Regions from separate parts of the Homo sapiens genome. Here all the other regions are linked to region 2. Evidence: promoter capture Hi-C in 16 types of primary human blood cells and fetal thymus (Javierre and others, 2016). All regions are on one chromosome and are shown on one strand. Each heading gives the region's core, a stretch centred on a gene start or on the middle of the fragment in contact. The rest is flanking DNA. Distances are from core to core; before and after follow the strand shown.

Evidence for each region. The method cuts DNA at HindIII sites, captures the fragments that hold promoters and counts their contacts. A CHiCAGO score of 5 or more calls a contact.
Region 1: a contact is called between a fragment that was not itself captured here and the fragment with the promoter of IL21R in region 2, in 1 of 17 cell types (non-activated CD4 T cells). The highest score is 6.1, in non-activated CD4 T cells.
Region 3: a contact is called between a fragment that was not itself captured here and the fragment with the promoter of IL21R in region 2, in 1 of 17 cell types (M1 macrophages). The highest score is 8.1, in M1 macrophages.

Annotation. Positions count from the first base shown.
Region 1 is chr16:25,055,430-25,058,372 of GRCh38, forward strand. No RefSeq gene overlaps it. Among named protein-coding and RNA genes, the nearest start is that of LINC02175, 10 kb to the right of the region's middle. RefSeq lists a silencer at 284-413. The HindIII fragment of the contact is 8,824 bases long and covers 1-2,943 here.
Region 2 is chr16:27,400,013-27,403,423 of GRCh38, forward strand. It overlaps IL21R (interleukin 21 receptor), which reads left to right and starts at 2,162. Exons shown (of 9, transcript NM_181078.3): 1 at 2,162-2,606. RefSeq lists enhancers at 2,239-2,781, 2,674-2,793. The HindIII fragment of the contact is 2,346 bases long and covers 1,366-3,411 here.
Region 3 is chr16:24,998,053-25,001,300 of GRCh38, forward strand. All of the region lies in intron 1 of ARHGAP17 (Rho GTPase activating protein 17), which reads right to left. Among named protein-coding and RNA genes, the nearest start is that of ARHGAP17, 16 kb to the right of the region's middle. The HindIII fragment of the contact is 701 bases long and covers 1,079-1,779 here.

The DNA.
Region 1 (2,943 bases), core at 61-2,560, 2.3 Mb before region 2:
TTTACCACTGTACCCCCAGTGCCTAGCACTTGGCAGACACCCACATGTTCCTTGACTACACTAGTCGTATTGAATAGTGTAAGGAATCCGGAGGTGAGAGAATAGAAGAACCTGCTCTTTATTATGCAAGAGAGTAGTTTTGTAAGTCTACCAAGTTAGGGCTTCCAGAGGGAAGCATTTTGATCAGCTTTTCAACAGAGTTGCTTAGCAGTGGGGTGAGTGCCTTCCTCAGGGGAGTGGTCACGTAGTGATATTGTTGCAATGGTTCTTGCACTGGATGCTGGGGTTGGCAAGATTAGGCTTCTTCCAACCCTTAGAACTGTGGGGTGTGTTCTCATCTGTGGGTTTCAACTGCAGATAAAACTGTTAACACTAGATGGCACTAGAGGATTCATTTGAAATCTGTTTAAGGCCAGGCCGGTGGCTCAACCCTGTAATCCCAGCACTTTGGGAGGCCGAGGCGGGTGGATCACCTGAGGTCAGGGGTTCGAGACCAGCCTGGCCAACCTGATGAAACCCCCGTCTCTACTAAAAATACAAAATTAGCGGGACCTGGTGGCTCATACCTGTAATCTCGGCTACTTGGGAGGCTAAGGCAGGAGAATCGCTTGAAACCGGGAGGTGGAGGTTGCAGTGAGCCGAGATTGTGCCATTGCACTCCAGCCTGGGCAACAAGAGCGAAACTCTGCCTCAAAAAAAAAAAAAAAAAAAAAAAAGGAATCTGTTTATGAAACTGCCACCCACAGTGAAAAAATAACCTTTATCATTGCACTTATACCCTCAACACACACTTGAAACAAAAGTTGTCTAAGTGCAATGGCTCACACCTGTAATCCCAGCATCTTGGGAGGCCAAGATGGGAGAAATCACTTGAGGTCAGCAGTTCGAGACCAGCTATAGCAAAACTTCATGTCTACAAAAAAATTAAAAATTAGAATTAGAAACAAAAGGTTCACAAATGTCTTAACACTATGTGTAATGCATCTTATTTTTTATTTTATTCTATTCCATTTCTTCTTTCTTTCTTTTTTATTTGAGCTGGAGTCTCATTCTGTGGCCCAGGCTGGAGTGCAGTGGTGCAATTTTGGCTCACTGCAACCTCCGCCTCCCGGGTTCAAGCAATTCTTGTGCCTCAGCCTCCTGAGTAGCTGGGATTACAGACGCGGACCACCATGCCCAGCTAATTTTTGTATTTTTAGTAGTTTCACCATATTGGCCAGGCTGGTCTTGTACTGCTGGCTTCAAGTGATCCGCTTGCCCCGGCCTCCCAAAGTGCTGAGATTCCAGGCATGAACCACCATCCCAGCCTCACATTAAAAAAAAAAAAAAAAAAAGCAGGTTTGCAAACTAATTGATCTTATGATATTAATTAGTCACCACTTACTGTTTGAAAAGCACTATTTTAGATAACTGAGTAAGTGTATGGTTATAAAACTGAGTATGTTTTCCTTGGACAGTCTGGGCTTGTATAGCAAATTGTGCACATTAGTGAATATTTCACGTTTCTGTGAATTGCTGCATGGAACACCTGAACATGTGTTTTGGGTGTCTATGGATGACAGATTGGGAGATGTGTTTGTACAGAATTCAGCACCTATTGTAGTCAAGGCAGAAGTAAGCCTTGGCAGTAGATATAAAGAAAAGGTATATTATCTGCTTCTAGGAGCTCAGAGACATCACACACACATTCCCTACATTTTACCTTAGCAGGGAACAAGGAAATGGGGGTATTACTCAGGGTATCATTAGGATGCTTTAGGCTGTTAACAGAAGCCTGACTCAAATTGGCTTAAAGGGTAAAAACACTTATTATCTCACAAAATATACGTTCAGAGATAGAGCAGTCCACAGGCCCAGAGCAGCTGAGCATGGCCTTCGGGATCCAGGTTCTTTTCATGACTCCTCAGTCGTCCTAAAGCTGGTTCTACTCATGATTGCAACAAGGCTTCCTGTGCTAATCAGGGTTTCAGCTCCCAGCCTTGAAACACAAAGCCTTAACTCCTTGTACTGTAGACCAGAATAGAGACAATTAAGGCTCCCATGGCATTTCCCAAGTTGTACACGTATTGTTCATTCGTTCCTGGTTTCCCCACTCTGACCTCTGTAAGGGGAGTAAGAGGACGGCACCTAATACAGAGTCAGGAGAAACACTTGGGTTAATTCATGCTGTTTGTCAAGTGTTTCTGAGTCTCCCTTCCCCTGGGCACAGGTCTTTTCATTTAGTGGAATTAACTGACTAGCTCTGGCCATGAGTTTGCAGAGTGAATAAATGGCTGCACATCTTTTGTATGAAGCATGAAGTGAGGTTATTTGCTATGTAGGGTCCTGAGAAGTGAACTAGCACTATGAGGAAAGGGAGTCAGAAGCCCACTGTGGGCAATGTAATGGGCGGTACGTGAACATAAAGATGAATGGATGGCTGCGTCTTCGCATGTGTAACGGGGCACTGAATGTGCACTTGGCCTTTCGAGGTGGATGGTTGGTTTTTGTCGAGTTCCTTGACCTGGTTCCTGATAACTTGGCAGCGGACCCTGGCCCGAACCTACTCAATCTCTACTCACCTTCCTCTTTTTTTCTCCCTTCCAGGCTTGCAGTAAGGTTGGGCTGCTGGCACGACCCTTACATCCACCACTTTGTGAGACTGTCTAAAGACAGGAAAGTCCCTGAAATCAACAGAGGTAAGTGACCATCTCCCTCCCCGAAAGCTCCTTATCAGCCAAGAGACCTGAAGTTTCAGGGGTTCATTCATGTTTTTTTTCCTCACTTTGTTACCCAGGCAGGAGTGAAGTTGTGTTCGAAATTGGTGGGTTCTTGGTCTCACCGACTTCAAGAATGAAGCCGCGGACCCTCGCAGTGAGTGTTACAGTTCTTAAAGGTGGCATGTCTGGAGTTTGTTCCTTCTGATGTTTGGATGTATTCGGAGTTTCTTCCTTCTGGTTGGGT
Region 2 (3,411 bases), core at 912-3,411:
GTGGGTAGAAAGCAGGTAGATAAAGAAGGCAGGCAGGAGGGAGGGAGGAGAAATTGAATATCCTTGTTTTCATACACACCCCAGAGCAGTGTAGTGAGTTAAGAGTGCGGGCTCTGGAGCCCAAATGACTGAGTTCAAATCCCAACTCTGGCACTCATCAGCTGTGTGACCTTGGACAAGTCACTTAACCTCTCTGAGCCTCAGTTTCCTCATCTGTAAAACAGGGACGATGATGATGATGATGATAACTATCTTCTAGACTCATTCTTTTTCATTTTGGGGATTTTATTTTTGAAGACAGAGTCTTGCTCTGTTGCCCAGGCTTGAGTGCAGCACTACAGTCATAGCTCACTGCAGCCTTCAGCTCCTTGGCTCAAGTGGTCCTCCCACCTCAGCCTCCAGAGTAGCTGGGACTACAGGCGTGCACCACCATGACTGTCTAATTTTTAAATTTTTTTATAGAGACAGGGTCTTGCTATGTTGCCCAGACTGGTCTTGAACTCCTAGCCTCAATCGATCCTCCCACCTCAGCCTCCCAAAATGATGGAATTATAGGTGTGCACCGCTGCACACAGCCTTCTCGAGTATTTCTGAGGTTTAAATGAGAGGGTGCATCTTTAAAGTCCTTAAAACCCTGGCACACAATGAGCTTTCAGCAAATATTAGCTCTTTTTACTGTCTCTTCTCCTGATCTTTCAACCACTACAAATTTCAGTGCATGTTATCAGAGAATTCACCCCGAAGATCAAGAGAAAGAAAAACAAAAGCTGGTGTCTTCCCAAGGTTCGTTCTCCAGAGAACACGACACACTTCGGTAGCTGGGAAGAGCTCTACAGGGCCAGGATCCCTCAAATCAACCACAGGGGAATTTGTACCAAGTTCCTCAAAAACAGCTAGAAAAAAAAAGAAAGAAAGAATAGCAAGACGCTTTCTCTTTTTTCTCTGGAGTGGTCACGAAAGTCAACAGCAAGTTGATTCCCAAAAATGAGTCAGCAGGGAGAGCTACAAATTGCATCTTGTTATCAAAACAGCATAAAATAGCCTCCCCCAACTGTGGGACATTTCATCCTGGTATGGCCCCGTTTTCACAGCCTGGTATAAGCTTAGGAATCAAACACACCCAGGTTCAAATCCCAGCTCTAATTCTTCTTGGCTTGTGTGACGTTTCACTCCTCTGGGCCTCAGTCTCTCCATCTGTAAAATGGGACTAATCTTGTCTGCCTCACACTTTGTGGGATAAAGTGAGATCATGTAGGCACCAAAGTAATTCGAGGTGGTGGTGATGGCAGTGGTAGTGGTGGTGGTGGTAGCGGTGGTGGTGGTAGCAATTCTCTTGCTCTCCTTTGGAGACTGCACTAGGCATTAAGCTTGTTACATTTTGTCTCCTGGTTTCTTGAATGTCTTCCAGAAACATCTGACCCTCTCATGGGCCTCTGGCATGTTAGCAAGATGAAAACTCTCTTGAGAATTTCTTTTCTCTATTTTCTTCTTGAATTCTCATGTGTTAATGTCTGCCCTCTTCCTCATAGCTAGGTGCCCCCATTTGACAGATGGGCAAAGTGAGGCATTCAGAGAGGTGATGTGACGTGCCCAAGGGGTCCTGCTCCCTGGAGCTCTGCAGCAGGAGACTGGATCCAAAGGAAATGGAGGCAGAGAGGCATGGGGGTCAAGCCAGAGCAGAGGGTCCCAAGCTCAGACCCTATTAGGCAGGTAAGGCTCAGGAATAAGAAACAGGCTGGTTTGCAAAGTCTGAAAAAGGGGCTTCCGTGGGACCTTGGGCAAGGTTCTGGTCCTTCTCTCTGTGCTGAGGGGCTGGAGTCGGCCACTGAGGACTCTGGGTCCACGGGTGAAACTGTGCCACATCTTCACACCTCTGGCCTCAGTTTCCATATCTGTGCAATGTGGTGGCTCCAGGAGGCACTGCCTGCCTCATGGGTTATGACTGAGAGGCCTGTGGGGATGATGTCACAGGTCCCTAAGAGGGAAGTGTCACCCCGATGGCCCCAAATGTCTTACTTGCAGGTGACCTTTGGTGACAGTGGGTGCCTGCTGTGGGGCCAGGCCCCCTCCCACCTCTTTCTCACTCCCTCCCAGGAGGAGCCCAGCTGCGGGTGGGCGGGGCTGGCGGGGAGCGGCTCACCACATCCTCCTCTTCCTCCCCACTCTGCACATGCGGCTGGGTGGCAGCCAGCGGCCTCAGACAGACCCACTGGCGTCTCTCTGCTGAGTGACCGTAAGCTCGGCGTCTGGCCCTCTGCCTGCCTCTCCCTGAGTGTGGCTGACAGCCACGCAGCTGTGTCTGTCTGTCTGCGGCCCGTGCATCCCTGCTGCGGCCGCCTGGTACCTTCCTTGCCGTCTCTTTCCTCTGTCTGCTGCTCTGTGGGACACCTGCCTGGAGGCCCAGCTGCCCGTCATCAGAGTGACAGGTCTTATGACAGCCTGATTGGTGACTCGGGCTGGGTGTGGATTCTCACCCCAGGCCTCTGCCTGCTTTCTCAGACCCTCATCTGTCACCCCCACGCTGAACCCAGCTGCCACCCCCAGAAGCCCATCAGACTGCCCCCAGCACACGGAATGGATTTCTGAGAAAGAAGCCGAAACAGAAGGTAATTCCAGCCCTGGTTTTCTGCTGGGACCAGGGTGCCTTCTCTGCCCAGGAGGGACTGTTCCCTGCCTGCTGCATCTAGTGTCACAGTGGGAGGGCTCGGAGGACTGTGCCCAAGTCACAATTGGGGACACTGAGGCAAAGAAGATTCATGCAGTGAGGCTGGGCAGAAATGAGGTTGGGGTCTCTTGTTCAGCACAGCTTAGGGGCCCAGCAGCAGGGATGTGGCTGAGACGACCCTCTATCTTGAAAACCAGCCTCCAAAATGTAGCGGGCTGGGGAAGGAAAGCCAGTTTCAAGCCAAACATAACATGTCAATCACCCGATTCTGGGCGGCTGAGTCGGGAGGTGACGGGCATGGGTGTAGAGCCTGATGGGACCCATTCTGTGTCAGTTTCTATGTCTTACCACCTTGATTCCACCCAGTCATTCAAAACAATGGCTGGTGTGCCCATTTCGCAGATGAGGCAATGAGGCTGCGAGAGGTAGAGTGATTTTCCCTCGGTGACTCAACTGGGACGTAGCAGGTCGGGCAGTCAAGCCAGGTGACCCCATGAGCTGTCGCTGCATCTTTCTCATGAAGCACGGGGAACGGGTCGGATGGTAAGAGGCCAACCCAGTTCCCTGTGCATGTGGAGGAGAGGAGGGTGGGGAGGTCAGTGGAGGCTGAGCCTTGAAGGATGGGAAAGGAAGAACATTCCTGGTGGAGGAGCCCTGGGGAGCGGGAACTTAGGACTTGCCGCAGGAATGACGTCTCTGCTCAGTGAAGGCAGAAGACCAGGTGCGGGACATTCAAAGCCAGGAGG
Region 3 (3,248 bases), core at 179-2,678, 2.4 Mb before region 2:
AGGGCAGGGGACAGGATAGGAGTCCCCAGGGAGGGCAGGGAAGAAGCCAGGAGCGAGGTGCGGGTGAAGCATGGATGAGGGACTGGCTGATGATGCAAACTGGGCCCCGGGCACAGGGACGTCAGGGACAGGAAAGTGGGAGGAGAGGGTCCTGGGAAGCCAAGACGCAGAGCGTGGATGACAGAGGAAGACGCAAAGCCCCAGAAGGAAGGGGAGGGCTGAGAAAAGCCTGACCATGAGGAGCAGCCAAGAAGAAACAGGCAGCAGATGGAGGGAGGTGAAAGGTGCATGGCACAGAGGGGAGGCTGGCAAGGCAGCGCCCAGGACAGCGGCACAGGTGGCGGGGCCTTGGACAGAGGGTGGGGTCCAGGCAGGTGGGTGGTGACGGCAACCATGACCACGGGTCAACCTGGGCCTCAGACACTGGGGAAAGGTGGCCATGTCCAGTTTTCTTAGGAAATTAGGAGGCAGGTCATCCAAGGAGAGAGGGTGGGTGTCTGGGGTAGGGTGAAGTAGGTTTCAGAAAAGTGAAAGTCTGGCAAAAGCACTCAGGAAAACGGGACAGAAAACTAAGCCAAGCGCTGGACGGCAGCATTCATTCAGCCCAGCTGAGCTTGGAGGCCATGAAATGCTGGCAGCCCCACACTGCACGACTGCAGGGTCTTTCTGGGCCACGCCCCGAATCCCAGGTATGGAAGTGAAGGACCCAAAAAGAGGAATGAATCAGGCTATTATTCCGCAGAACAGGTGAAAGAAAAAGGCCAGGTAGACAGAGCCTTGGAAGTCAGTCACCCACATGCCTGACCCCATCAGAGAAGAAAGGGGACCAAGCCAGGGCGGGAGGGACTGTGTGGGAAAGAGGAGGCTGAAAGGAGGAGAGACCGCGGGCAGAGGTGGACAAGGGACCAAGGTGAAGACCTTTGAGGTGCTTCTTGAACCACAGTGGCGAATGTCTTTCTGGACAAGAGTGCCAGTGCCCACCGCCATCACAGGACACAGCCCCATCCACACTCCCGGGACAGCAACATCTCATTGTCCCAAACTCTGCCAATTTCATCAGTGAAAAGTGGAGCCTGGAAGCTTTGCATTTCTTCAATGACTTCGAATTTTTTAAAGTGGTCTCACAGATTTCCTGGTCATCGGTATTTCATCTGAGAAGTTTCTGTCTGTGATATCTGCTCATTAGAGCGGAGTTCTTAAAATTACTAGAGAGCTTTATACATTCAGTATATTCACCTCTGTAGTGGTTGCTCTCAGTTTTTTCCAATTAGTCATCGTTTTAAATTTAACTTTGATATAATAAAACAGACAGAAGTGTAGTTATTATGTGGTTAAATCTACAGGTGTTTTATTTATTTATTTATTTATTTATTTATTTTTTAGAGATGGGGTTTCACTCTGTCACCCAGGCTGGACTGCAGGGGCACAATCATGACTCACTGCAGCTCCGGCTCCTGGGCTCTAAGGATTCTTCTATCTCAGCCTCCTGAAATAGCTGGGACTACAGGGGTGTGCCACCTCACCCAGCTAATTTTTCCAAAATTCCTTTTACAGACACGGGCCTCACTATGTTAATCAGGCTGGGCTCAAACTCCTGGCCTCAAATGACCCTCCTGCCTCGCCTCCCTAACAACTGGGATACAGGTGGGAGTCGCATGTCCCACCTACAGGCTATCTTTTATTGTTCTTTCTCCACATTTTTATGCCAAAGCATGCAGTACTTTCCACAATAAGCTATATTTTCTTGTATTTATTTTGTGGTTTTATTTTTTACATGAAAGCTTTAACCCATTTGGAATGTATTTTGGCATAGAGCAGTGAAGTGAAGGCTAACCTGGCTATTTTCCCCAGTGCTGACCTGCTGTGTCACACTGTATGTCCTCACTGTCTCATGACGCCTCCCTAGCACACACCACCTTCTTAAACACAGCAGAGCTTGCTCCTGGTGGTATCAGGAGCCGTTTCTCACGTATAGGAACACAGCAGAGTGGCTGATTGGACCAAGGTCACAGACACAGCGAGTAAACAGTACAGACAGGATCTCAAGCCCTCAGACTCAAGTCCAATACACTTTTTACTACAATGCAACTGCCCCAAAGCAGTTTTACGTTGATTAAGCCCTTATCTAAAAGTTTTGAAAACTGAATTAACTAATCGCCAAGAAAGCCAATTCTTGAGGGAAAGTAATTTGATGATCATCAAATCCCATGACAGAACACATTTCTGCTTTGTGGGGGAAAGGCTCCCATCTAGAAAAAGCATGTATTTTGGACACAGGCAGAACAACACACACAGACGCACGAGGTGCACATCTGCAAATAACATTTCTCTAGAGAGCAGCTCCCAGCATGGGAACTGTAACTAAGCATTGCTTGGACAACTGGCAGGCTTTCTTGAGCTGCCGACCATGTGGACGGCTTTTCTTGAATCTTGGGGTTTTTGTCCATGCGCTTGAGGATGTCTGTGAAGTCCATAAGATTATAGGCAAATCTGTGTGTGGATGATTTTTTCTGGCAACGGGGGGGTTATTAAAACCTCTACCTAAATCTACAGGCAGCAAGGTTTCCATTCCTAAAGACTGCCCTGAGATTCAGAGGCTACAATTCAGTCTACTGCCTTGTGACCTGCTAACCACCTCTTCTTTAGAAGTGACATTAGCATACTGCCACATACGCTCCATTAAAACTCCTCTTACCATTTCTCAACTTTCTCCTCCAATTTGTTCCTAAATCTAAAGTGCATTGCAATTGTTTTCTCCATATAGTTGGACTACTACAAATTCAGCATTCTGCATTTAAGATCACCTGCCAACCTCATGACACAAAACAGACACAGAATAAAGCTCAAATAGCAGACACACTAAAAGTTGTGTGGTTCGAAAATGAGGAGAACGTTGCTTGCAAACTTCCATTGGGAACAATTCATATTACAACACTTGTATTTTAGCAGGATTTAAATAGTCCTTATCATGTTCCTGAAATGTCCAATAAAGGTAGAATCATATGCCCTTTACACAATATTCCTATAAACATTTATACAGCTACACACTATTTTGGAGTCTAACCAATTAAATAAGGGATGAAAAAGAAATCATTGAACTAAATAGCAAAAGCAGAAATAGAAGCACAACACTGATAATATTATGTACCTAAAATAACAAAAATGATCAGTTGCATAGTTTAGTAAATAGGCACTATTCTCAATTTAAAAAACAAAAAAAAATACCTGGGAAGCATATAAAAGATTGT